Linked DNA regions of Homo sapiens: regions 2 and 3 are each linked to region 1. Evidence: promoter capture Hi-C in human tissues and cell types (Jung and others, 2019). All regions are on one chromosome and are shown on one strand. Each heading gives the region's core, a stretch centred on a gene start or on the middle of the fragment in contact. The rest is flanking DNA. Distances are from core to core; before and after follow the strand shown.

Region 1 (3,881 bases), core at 408-2,907:
CCTTTTAAGAAGCAAAGCAAAGGCATAAAGTGTATATTCACTTAAAAAACCAGTTTCTTTGTTTCCAGATTTTTTGGCCAGAATATCTTTTTGTGACATCTTTTGAAGCCCATAGATTGGTCTAGAATGCAGAGTTCAGGGAATTCTACATGGGGGCCCAATAGTCTCCGTCTCAAATATTCAGAGTTCAAAATGGTTATCAATTATAGTAATTATGCTTATAATTAGGTTAATGAACCAGTTATGCCCAAACTCCAAGTGCAAAAACTTCAAGACCTACTGATGAGGTGCTCTAAAAAGAGGGGTTTATGTAAACAAATCCCTATTAGGCAAAGTAAATCAAGATAAGGAACCTCACCCCAGGCTGGATTAGAAGCTTGCAGGCATCTTTCAATCACAGCAAGTCCCTAATCACTCAGGAACCACCTCTGTGGTTTCGCATTAGGGAAAACTGCTGCCTTCTCAGGTCTGAGGGCAATACAAAAGGTGCCCCCAAAATGCTCTTGGCTAAATATTCTTGATGCTTGGAAGGGGTGAGGGAAGACACAGCAAGAATATGCATATAGCTTCAGTTTCTGCGAATCACATTGTAACTGCAAGACCATAATAACTGCTACTCAGTAAAAACTAGTTATGTCAACCATGCATTAGATATCATCACATTGAGTGGAGGGAAAATTTTCAACCTTTTAGTCTTTTGACCTTGTTCCAAATAAATAAATAATTTAACGTCCCTTTTTTAGAGTCTTAGAGTGGTGTTTCCAAACACAAGCTTTCCTTGCTTTTCTGATTGCCATCACCATCCCTCTTCCTACCTCAAGGTTTAATACCACCAGAAACTGTAGAAAATGATTATGCCCAGTATCCAGGTCATTATTGTTTAATCAATGCATCTCTGGAGCATGAAAAAGGTATCTAAGCCACAGCTATTGTTTGGATTTTATTTAAAAACAAAATAAAACACACACAAATAACTATAGTTCTATGCCAAAGCTAAATTAGAGATCCATACTTCATGATCCTGTTTTGCCTTTAAACAATGTGACTTTACATGCCTAATACTGTATGTCTGGTCTACCAGAGACATAGAGATCAAAGGTCATATTTAACATTCAGGAGGAGGGGCGGGTGCAGACTAATTAATAAATTAATACAGCGACGCTTTTTCTTGCTGGAGTCCAGCATTAATAATCTACTTTCACAATCCCAACGGACAGCAAACATTTAAGAGAAAAAAAAGCCAGAGAAAGAGAAAGAACAATCACTTACCAGTCTCTTTTTATTTGGGGAGCCTTAGAATTTGCAGACGCTGCCAGTCTGCCTTTAATTAGTTGCACATCACCCCCTAACACAAAGAAACACAAATCCAGATGTGTCTTGGCAGCTCCCAATTACAACTTTAATACTTGTAAACAAACTGTTGGGGGGGGGGGGGTAAATAAATATGCGGATCAAAAAAAATACCTGTAAATGGCTTTTTTTTCTTGTTGCAGAGAGAAGGAGGAGGAGATGGTGTTAGTGGTGGGGGTGGAAGGAGGAGGAGGTGGGGGGAGAGGAAAGAGTCGAGTGTGAGTGTATGTGTGAGAGCGCGGGTCTGTTGTCGGTGGTCTCTCCTCTCCCAGCGCGTTGCTCTCCGTCCGTCTCCAGTCGCTGTGTGCGAGGGAGGGAGGGAGCCGGGGAGTCTCTCCTCTCTCTCTCCCCTCTCTCTCTCTCTCTCTCTTCCCCTCTCTCTCACCCTCCCCCCTTCTCTCTCTGTTTGTGTGTGTGCGAGTGTGCGGTTGCTGGGGGAGGGGAGCCACAGAGAAAGGCGAGGGAGGAGGTGTGGAGGCTGGGGGCGGGGGCGCGGGGGTGGGGGTGATTGGCGCCGAGGTGAGGAGGACGCAGGGACGTGGACACCTACTGATGATTGGCTGCAAATTACACGGGGAACAAGAGGCGCACGCGGGCCAGCGCTCCTTTTCACAAATCCTCTCCTCGGCAGAGGAGCCACGTTTTCCCTGCTCGCCTGCGGATCGCCCTCCCTCCTCGCGCCCGGCTCTCCGGCTCAGCCCAGCACACAGGGCTGTTGATTATTTTCTTTTGCTCTCGGAGATAATTGTTTGGAAGGGTTGGAAAGAGGGCGTTTCCGCCACTCTGCGTGTGGGGTGTGTGTGTGCGTGCGTGTGCGGGTGTGTGTGTAAATAAACTTGTCTGGGATTTCTGGCTGGGTTGAGAAGAGCAATACAAGAAACAGAGAAAAGGTCATGTTTGTTTGAAGAATGCTCTTAGTTCGTACCCAATGGCATGGTTTTAAATAAATTTCCTGGTGTACCCAGGAAGACTTTAAAAAAAAATACCATTTAGATCTTTAAAGTAAGGGAAAACGGACCGGTGTGGTTCTTCAGACCCTCGAAGTACTATTATGCCAGAATGTAAAAAATCGGTGATATGATGCTTGGCCAATTTCAAAATCCATCTCAATCTCTGTCTCTCTTCTCTACTCTTCTCTCTCTCCTCCCAAAATCCTCTTTTACTATTCCATCTGGTAGTTCCAAAGAATAAATCAGATTTTTAACTCACTGCCCTATTTTTTAATTTCAAACTTTACTTAAACAAAAACTTTTGTCTTTCAGTCTATTTTAGAATAGTATGTAATTAACATTTCACTTCTTGCCACTTGGGAAAACATAGTTTATGAATTGAAACATAAATATTGTACGGCACGTCAAATATAAATAAAACTCGTTCATAAATGCAGCTGTAAATTAACCTCTTCACTGCTGCCTCAAATAAAATATTTGTGGACACATGCTATCCTACTATTAAAGTATACTCTAGTGGAAATAGTTATAAGATACAGAATTATGAATACTTTTGAATAATTTTTTTTCTAAGAGCAAAACAGTGGCTAAGGTAAGTTATAGAGTAGGAAAGAAAAAACTTAAGATTATTTAAATTGGTGTTATCAAGCAGAGTACAAGTTTTGTATTAAAATTAAGTGTTTATTCTAGAGTAATGCAATATTAATTGTTCAGATAAGTGAGGAAAATATAATGTTTTGTTTCTTTAATAAGAAAAAAAAGCTGAAAAGACATTTTAAACCATTTTGTATTTGAATTTTCAAAAGATAGACTTTGACCATATCAAGACATTACCAACTATGGAGGATAAATTGTTGATAACAAGTTTGAAACTGTGGTGTGTGTATGCCTAAATGAAGGTGTTATTTCAAGAGTGGGCTACTATTGCAATAGGAAACAGGTGTATTTTGTGACTCATTGATTAATATACATGTTTTGTAATTTTTTTAAAGCATAAGCTGTTTGATTATTACCGGTTATTTGACATCTATAGACAAAATAACTGGAGGGTTAATAATTATTCAAGTTAATAAGATATTTTTATTCTTGTGCTAATGCATTATAAAAGCAAAAAAGGAAATTTTCCATTTGATTATTTTGTTTTAGCTCAGCTTCATAGGAAATTTATCAGGAAAATGTGGTCACTTTTTAATGAGTGAAAACATGCTAGAAAAATGATAGATTCTTAAACATCTTTTCACAATATTTAAAATATCAGTCCAATGTTAGAAATTTTGAAGTTTATAAATAAGCAATGTTTTTAATCAAATAAAGACATCATGCTTTCTTTTGCCAAATTTTCTTTTCTGGAAATTTTCCTTTTTGGAAATTCCTTTTCTCATGCTTTCCTTTTTGGGACTCTTCAAGCTTACTTTCAAAATGAAATCTTAAACACGTGAGAGAAAATATGTTCTAAATTCCAATGAATTTTACTTTCCAGCTAATGAAGGAAAACTACAGAATTCTTGGTCTTAATAATTAATAATAATAGCCCCTATTAATGACCCATTAGTGTCAGATCCTGCACTAAGTAATTTGCAG
Region 2 (3,881 bases), core at 810-3,309, 430 kb before region 1:
CTTTTGTTCTGCCATCTCTAGACTCTTACCTCATCAGCTTGCTTGAAATCAGTTAGTATCTACCTTACAGCCTGTGGGAAGGGTAAAACAAGAAGAAAATACTTTGTATGCTCCTTTTCTTTTGAGGGCAAGCAAGTTTCAGAGGTTGCACACTTCAACTTTTCTCATATACCATTGGCCAGAATTGGTCATGTGACCCTACCCGGCAAGAAAAGAGACTGGAAATGTCATGGTTCGTTGCCATAGCTTCAATTATAATGCCTATTTTTTTAATAGAAGAAAAGGGTAATGAATATTGATAAGGCAATTAGCAATCTCTGCCACAAAAGTGTACAAAGATTGAAAGTATACAAATATTAATCAGACACAGCATCTCTAAGGTTTTCTTTTAATAACTGCATTTTTCTAATTTATTTTATAAATTTATGGTTTTTCAATTTATAATTTGTTTTTAATCAATCATATCAACTTCATTTTTTTAATACTAAGAATTTGAAACTGATTTAGGGACCAAATATTGGGGAATTTATTATAATCAACTATATGTTCAATAATAATAACAGAGAAAAAACTACATCTCATCAAATGTACTCCTAAAACCAGACAGGTTTTAGAGTACTAGTTCTTTGAAAATTTCATTATGCTAAGTGAAATAATCCAGGATCAGAAGGACAAATACCATATGATTAAGTGGAATCTAAAACTATCGAAGTCAGAAACAGAAAGTAGATTTGTGGTTACCAGAGGCTAAGAGGTGGGGAAATGGCAAGATATTGGTATAAAGTTTCAGTTAGGAGGGAAAAGTTTTTTGACATCTATTCCACAGCTTGGTGATCACAGTTAATAATAATGATTGGCAAACTTCAAATGGCTAAAAGATAAATTTTTCTCACCACAAAAATAACAAGTATGTGAGGTCATATGTTAATTCACTTGATTTATTCCTTCCACACTGTATACATATATCATAACATCACCATGTACCCCAATATATATACAATTATAATTTTTCAGTTTATAATAAAAAAATGCTGAAACACTGAACAATACCAATGCTGTATAAACTACTGCAAAGCATAAAAAAAGAAGAAAAGCTCAAATAGATTCCAGGTTTGTTTTACAAAACAAGTTCCTTATACATGTCTTGTTCCTTTTGCATACTCCTATCCTTCTTGTCTTAAACACAGTTGATAGAAAAACTTCAATGATCTGAATGCCATTGATCATGTTAATTTTTTTGTTCATAATTTAAAAATTATTTTCAAAATAAAAAAGGAGAGGGATGCTATATTTTTTCTATCCAAATGTTTTTTTATTGATAAATAATAGTTATACATACTTATAGGGCATATGTAATATTTTGATATACTCATACAATGTATAATGATTAAATCAAGGAAATTCAGATATTTATCACCTGAAACATTTATCATTTATTTGTGCTAGGAACATTTCAAAGTTTCTCTTCTAATTATTTTGAAATATACAATGTATAATAATTAACAGTAGTTGCTCAACAGTGCTATCAAATGCTAGGACGTATTTCTTCTACGTAACTATACCCTCTTATTTACTGAGAAACAACCCCAACCTAGTGATTCAGAATCAAACAACTATTTACAGTCCAAAAATTACCATTTAGGTTTTATACAGTCAAAATTAATTTCCAAGGAGTTAAGATGTTTATCATTTTATCAATGACAAACATAATTAATATTAAAACAAAACACAAGAGAAAATCTATAGTAGAAGTAGACTGTTCCTACTTGCAAGATTTCTAATAAGTTTATATTCTTATACAATGTCCCATTGAAACATCTATGTTTAAACCTGGTTTCTACTCACTACTCTGCTAAGAGCCACAATGTTCAAATAGCCCTGATCTACCTTATCCTGATTAGCAGAACATTCTGTCCACTTTATCAAACACCAACTGACTAGGCCATATCTCTGAAAAAAATACTTCTTTTAGTTATTAGATTTTTTTCAGTCTACCTTCTTTGAGCTTAATTTGGGGATTAGAGTGTTCTGTCTGGTAATCATGAGAATTAATATTCTCTTATAAGTTAGAATAAATCTCCCATTTGTCTTACTTTGACTCAGGGTGTTCTTCTATCTGAAATCATGTTAGTGTTCCTCAGCTAATGTTACTTCTTTTATAGTTTATTGGAGGACTTATAATTTCTTTTTAAAGAAATAAAATGAATGAATTATTAACTCATACAAGCTTAATGCAACATTTTACAAGTAGAAAATCCATTTAAAATTAATGTATATTTATTTTATATTTCTTATAACTTCTTTTTTTATTATACTTTAAGGTCTGGGATACATGTGCTGAATGTGTAGGTTTGTTACACAGGTATACATGTGCCATGGTGGTCTGCTGCACCCATCAACTTGTCATCTACATTAGGTATTTCTCCTAATGCTATCCTTTCCCTTGACCCCCACCCCCTGACAGGCCCCAATGTGTGATATTCCCCTCCCTGTGCCTGTAGGTTCTCTTTGTTCAACTCGCACTTATGAGTGAGAACATGCAGTGTTTGGTTTTCTGTTCCTGTGTTAGTTTGCTGAGAATGATGGTTTCCAGCGTCACCTATGTCCCTGTAAAGCACATGAACTCATCCATTTTTATGGCTGCATAGTATTCCATGGTGTATATGTGCCACATATTCTTTATCCAGTGTATCATTGATGGGCATTTGGGTTGGTTCCAAGTCTTTGCTATTGTGAATAGTGCTACAATAAACATACGTGTGCATGTGTCTTTATAGTAGCATGATTTATAATCCTTTGGGTATACCAAGTAATGGGATTGCTGGGTCAAATGATATTTCTAGTTCTAGATCCTTGAGGACTTGCCACACTGTCTTCCACAATGGTTGAACTAATTTACACTCCCACCAACAGTGTAAAAGCATTACTGTTTCTCCACATCCTATCCAGCATCTGTTGTTTCCTGGCTTTTTAATGATCACCATTCTAACTGGCATGAGATGGTATCTCATTGTGGTTTTGATTTGCATTTTTCTAATGACCAGTGATGAGCTTTTTTTCATATGTTTGTGGGCCACATAAATATCTTCTTTTGAGAAGTGTCTGTTCATATCCTTTGCCCACTTTTTGATGGGGCTGTTTGTTTTCTTGTAAATTTGTTTAAGTTCCTTGTAGATTCTGCATATTAGCCCTTTGTCAGAAACAGATTGCAAAAATTTTCTCCCATTCTGTAGGTTGCCTATTCACTCTGGTGCTAGTTTCTTTTGCTGTGCAGAAGCTCTTTAGTTTAATTAGATCCCATTTGTCTATTTTGGCTTTTGTTGCCATCACTTTTGGTGTTTTAGTCATGAAGTCTTTGCCCATGCCTATGTCCTGAATGGTATTGTCCAGGGTTTCTTTCAGGGTTTTTATGGTTTCAGGTCTTACATTTAAGTCTTTCATCTATCTTGAAATTTTTGTATAAGGTGTCAGGAAGGGGCCCAGTTTCAGTTTTCTGCATATGGCTAGCCAGTTTTCCCAAAACCATTTATTAAATAGGGAATCCTTTCCCCATTTCTTGTTTTTGTCAGGTTTATCAAAGATCAGATGATTGTAGATGTGTGGTGCTGTTTCTGAGGCCTCTGTTTTGTGCCTAGTGCCATGCTGTTTTGGTTACTGTAGCCTTGTAGTATAGTTTGAAGTCACGTAGCGTGATGCCTCCAGCTTTGTCCTTTTTGCTTAGGACTGTCTTTGCTATACAGGCTCTTTTTTGGTTCCATATGAAATTTAAAGTAGTTTTTTTCCAATTCTGTGAAAAAGTTAATCACAGTTTGATGGGAATAGCAGTGAATCTATCAATTACTTTGGGCAGTATGGGCATTTTCATGATATTCATTCTTCCT
Region 3 (3,881 bases), core at 947-3,446, 270 kb after region 1:
AATCATAAAGTATTGATCGCTCAAAATCAGACATCTCTGTCTCCATGTCTCACAAGCATGAACATCTGCTCCATCTTTCACAATAAGACTCTTCCCCATAATCAGACACACTACTGTCTTTGAGATCGCAAGCTTAATTATACTGTTTTTAAACCTTCGTGATTGAGCACGTATGCAGCAACACCGCTCCCTCACTGTGGCTTTAATCTCGTCTTTCTATGTCTCTAAGTATAATTTAAATGTAAAATTCTTTCTTTACAATTTCAAATCACCATCGAGTCTTATCATTTTTCTTCTACTCTGTATTAATTCTACCTTTTGACCGCAAGTCAATGAAAGCTTCTAAAAATCATAAAAGTTTCTGTTATTTCCTAAACAGCAGAGACTTAACAGTTTTACCAATTTAAGAAATAGATGCCTTTCTGAAAATTTGGAGAAAAATTCTACCCTACTTCTCTTCTTTGAGAAGAGAACATTTTATTATCTATTCTGTTTTGCAAAAAGGAATGTTATTTGATGCTCTGCCATATTCTTTTGCATTTTAATTAAAATAATCACTCATTTTTATCAATTACATTAGTATCTCCTTCTTTTAATGCCCTACATATACATAAATATGTGCAGCAAATTTGGTGCTGCAATAGGCACTTCCTCTGTCTGAAGATTGGCTACCCTATAATGCCAAACACTATGAAAAGAAAAGAGTACAAGTCACTTGAGTATTATAGGTAAAATGCATTAATTCATCCTGGTGCATGGACATATCATAGCTTGGGTATATCATACTCAATGAAAACATTTTGTGGTCTAAAGAACTAGGCCACTCAACTTTCAACTTTTTTTTAAACTACAATATATTTGAATCCAATTCTATAGTTGAAATTTAGGTATGAGATGATGCTTAGGAATGGGGTCAGGAATGGGCTACCATTAGGGTCTGAAATGGAGAGAGATGCAAGAAGAGGCTTAGCAAAGAAGGAGAGAATGGAGTAAAATCTGAAATGGTATAAAATAAGGAGTGCCTCTGCACACATTACTCAGTAACAATAGGTTATATTTATATTTTAACATGGCTGTTTGGGGCATCAAACAAAAATAGCAAAAACAGAAGAAAAGAAAACAAAACTCTAAACCAAGATTTCTTTGTTCTAGTGTTGAGCAACACTTGTAGCTTCTACCCATCAGATGCCAGTTGCCCCCTTCAGGAGTTGTAATAACTTAAGGCACTGTCAAATGTCCCCTGAAAAAATAAAACTGCTTCCAGTTAAGAACCACTGTTCTGAAAATTATCTTAAAATATCTCACTTTACTCTTGACCTCATAAACATCCTTAATACTACCTGCCATATGATTTTTCAGGGTAAAGGCAAGGGTCCCTAATAATGGTTCCCTAGAGTGTAGCCACATGATCAGTAAGGGAGGTTGATGACCCAGTCCTATCATCAATGTATAAAGACCCAGTCACAGCTCTGTTCTCCACAAGAGAATCTAGACCATAAGCAAGCAAAACATAGCTAAGTGTCCCCTCCTTTCACGTTTGGATCACTCTTGCTACAGGCACAGGGTACTCTTTGTCTACAGGACCACTCCTTTCCACATTCAGTACGCTGTTGACGAAAATCTCAAGAATGGTTAAGGCTGGACCCCGGAAGAGGGAAGCCAGTTTTTTGAAACATTCTCACAGAGCCTGCCAGTTTTTCTCACTGAACAAGAGTCTCATCTCTGGATAAAAATAATAGTATTTCCATATTAGCAAATTCAAAGGTCCATAATAAGGTTTTCTTTCATTGAAAAATCCCCACCATGATCTCCTTTGCATTCCAATAAATCTTAAAAATATGCCCTTTGTCTAAAGGATCTAGATGGAATTGTATATAGTATGTACCTATCTAATAGAATTTTTATTTAGAGTTTTATAGACAGTAGATTTGTTTTCAAATTGGAAAAGTATATTACCACTTAGCTTATAGAAATAATTATTACACATTTTACATAATTTAACATTTCGGCCTTTCTCTTTCTGATCTCATAAGCTTTTCTAAATTTCTTAGGAAATGAAAGATTCTAAAAATCATAAAAGTTTCTGTTATTTCCTAAACAGCATGCAAAGCTGTTGCATAATCTCAGAAAAAGATAGACAGGACAGACCTTACAAATATATTTAAATCTCTGAAATGTAGACAAGAATATGTAAATTGAAAGTAAATTTATTTTAGTGAACTGGCAAGAAGGGAAAAAATATAGGGCCATATGTTACCATCAGTTTTGCTATGCATATTTGGGGGGGGAGCTTCTTAAGCCAGACATTTTCAGGCCATAAAATGTCTTCCATAGGTAACCACAAGCTGGCAAAAGTAGTAGGCAAGTGTTGGAAGTTAGAAATGAGGACGATGCTTTTATTGGTGGCTGAGCAGAGTTGGGAACTTGGTGTAAGAGGAATGGAGATGAGGGTGTGATTTTACTTATGTGAAAATGGTAAGGAAACTCGGTGCTTGAAGCAGAAGTTCTTTGTTTCACCTGCTTTCCTCTTATTGGTCTCCCTCCATCATGAGGAGCAATTTTGAAAATAACCTACAATGTACAGAATGTGTACTCCAGTTCGCCTACCTGTTCTAGGCGCCAAAGTCATTTCTTCTTTCATAGCTTGTCTCAATAAAAAATATCACAGCCCACAGGATGTTCAGTTTGAATTCTAGTCATGGATGCAAATAATAAATTACATGAATTTTTAATATTAATAATAAGCTGTATGAAAGCAAGACTTTGTTCTGACTTTGATCCACAGTGTTGTGAACAATGCCAGGTATTCAATAAGTACTCAACAATTTTTTAAATACCTGAAAAAAATTGATATAATAAACAACAATTATGCTACAAATGGTGCCAGGAGCTTTACATATTTTAAATTAATAATTATTCTGCTTTGTGTGTATATGCATGTGTTTGTATATGATTATATTTGGACACCACCCATTTTCATGAAAGATTAAAGATTTCTCAACGACATAATTTTATATGTGTGTACTCCTTTAGCATTTATAAAGCATCTTCCCATAGCTTGTAATAAAGGAATTCACAAGACAGAATTCCAATTATTTCAAAAGACAGAATTATATTTGCTAACCAAGATCATGGACAGATAACCGACTCTCCAACTTCTATTTCTTACTCTATGAAGTGATAATAACACAACCCTTATAAGGTTCCTGTGAGGATTAAATGGACTGAAGTATAGAAATTGCTCAACAAAATGTAAAGTACTGAATAAACATAAGTAGCATTACTGTAGTTATTCTCAAAGAAAAAAGACCATAAGTAAATAGGTAGATCATTTGCATATTAACAATTACATGACCTCTTGAACTCCAAGATGTTGGGAGTCTCAAGGAACAAATGCAGGTAACCAAGAATCCTGAGCTCCAAGTCTAATCTTAGCACTGATATGCTATGATATTTGTCAGAATTCACAAGCTTTTTTGTACCTCAGTATCATCATCTGTATAAAAGGGTTCTCATAATTTCTCAGAGGTTCCTTTTGCTCCAATGTTTTATGATTCTACTACAAAAAAAAAAAAAATTAATGAGGCACCTGGAGCAGAATGTAAAGATGAATAACTCAACTTGGGGAAAGTTTTAATAAAAAGAAGGGAGTATAATTGGTCACTTCTTGTGCCCAATTTACAGCCTTTTACCCCATCTTATACTCCAATCATGCTGCAGCAGTATCCCTGTGTTGCAATCTTGCTCCACAATGTGGGACTCCTTGAGGAACCTATGAGACACACATGTGCAACCCAGAAGTACAAGGAAATTAAAGGCCAATGGGGAAAATTCATCAATGGAGGATAAGATCCAACGGACAAAACTCCCCTCTTCTTTCC

The links. Contacts are between HindIII fragments. The study calls those that stand out against the background at their distance.
Region 2: a contact is called between a fragment that was not itself captured here and the fragment with the promoter of CXXC4 in region 1, in 1 of the 25 tissues and cell types used here (hippocampus).
Region 3: a contact is called between a fragment that was not itself captured here and the fragment with the promoter of CXXC4 in region 1, in 1 of the 25 tissues and cell types used here (mesenchymal stem cells).

What each region holds. Positions count from the first base shown.
Region 1 is chr4:104,493,237-104,497,117 of GRCh38, forward strand. CXXC4 (CXXC finger protein 4) reads right to left here and starts at 1,658. Exons shown (of 3, transcript NM_025212.4): 1 at 1,465-1,658. The region is part of intron 1 of CXXC4-AS1 (CXXC4 antisense RNA 1); the gene reads left to right. The HindIII fragment of the contact is 3,942 bases long and covers 575-3,881 here.
Region 2 is chr4:104,066,544-104,070,424 of GRCh38, forward strand. No RefSeq gene overlaps it. Among named protein-coding and RNA genes, the nearest start is that of LINC02503, 110 kb to the left of the region's middle. The HindIII fragment of the contact is 8,203 bases long and covers 1-3,881 here.
Region 3 is chr4:104,764,594-104,768,474 of GRCh38, forward strand. No RefSeq gene overlaps it. Among named protein-coding and RNA genes, the nearest start is that of CXXC4, 270 kb to the left of the region's middle. The HindIII fragment of the contact is 3,923 bases long and covers 236-3,881 here.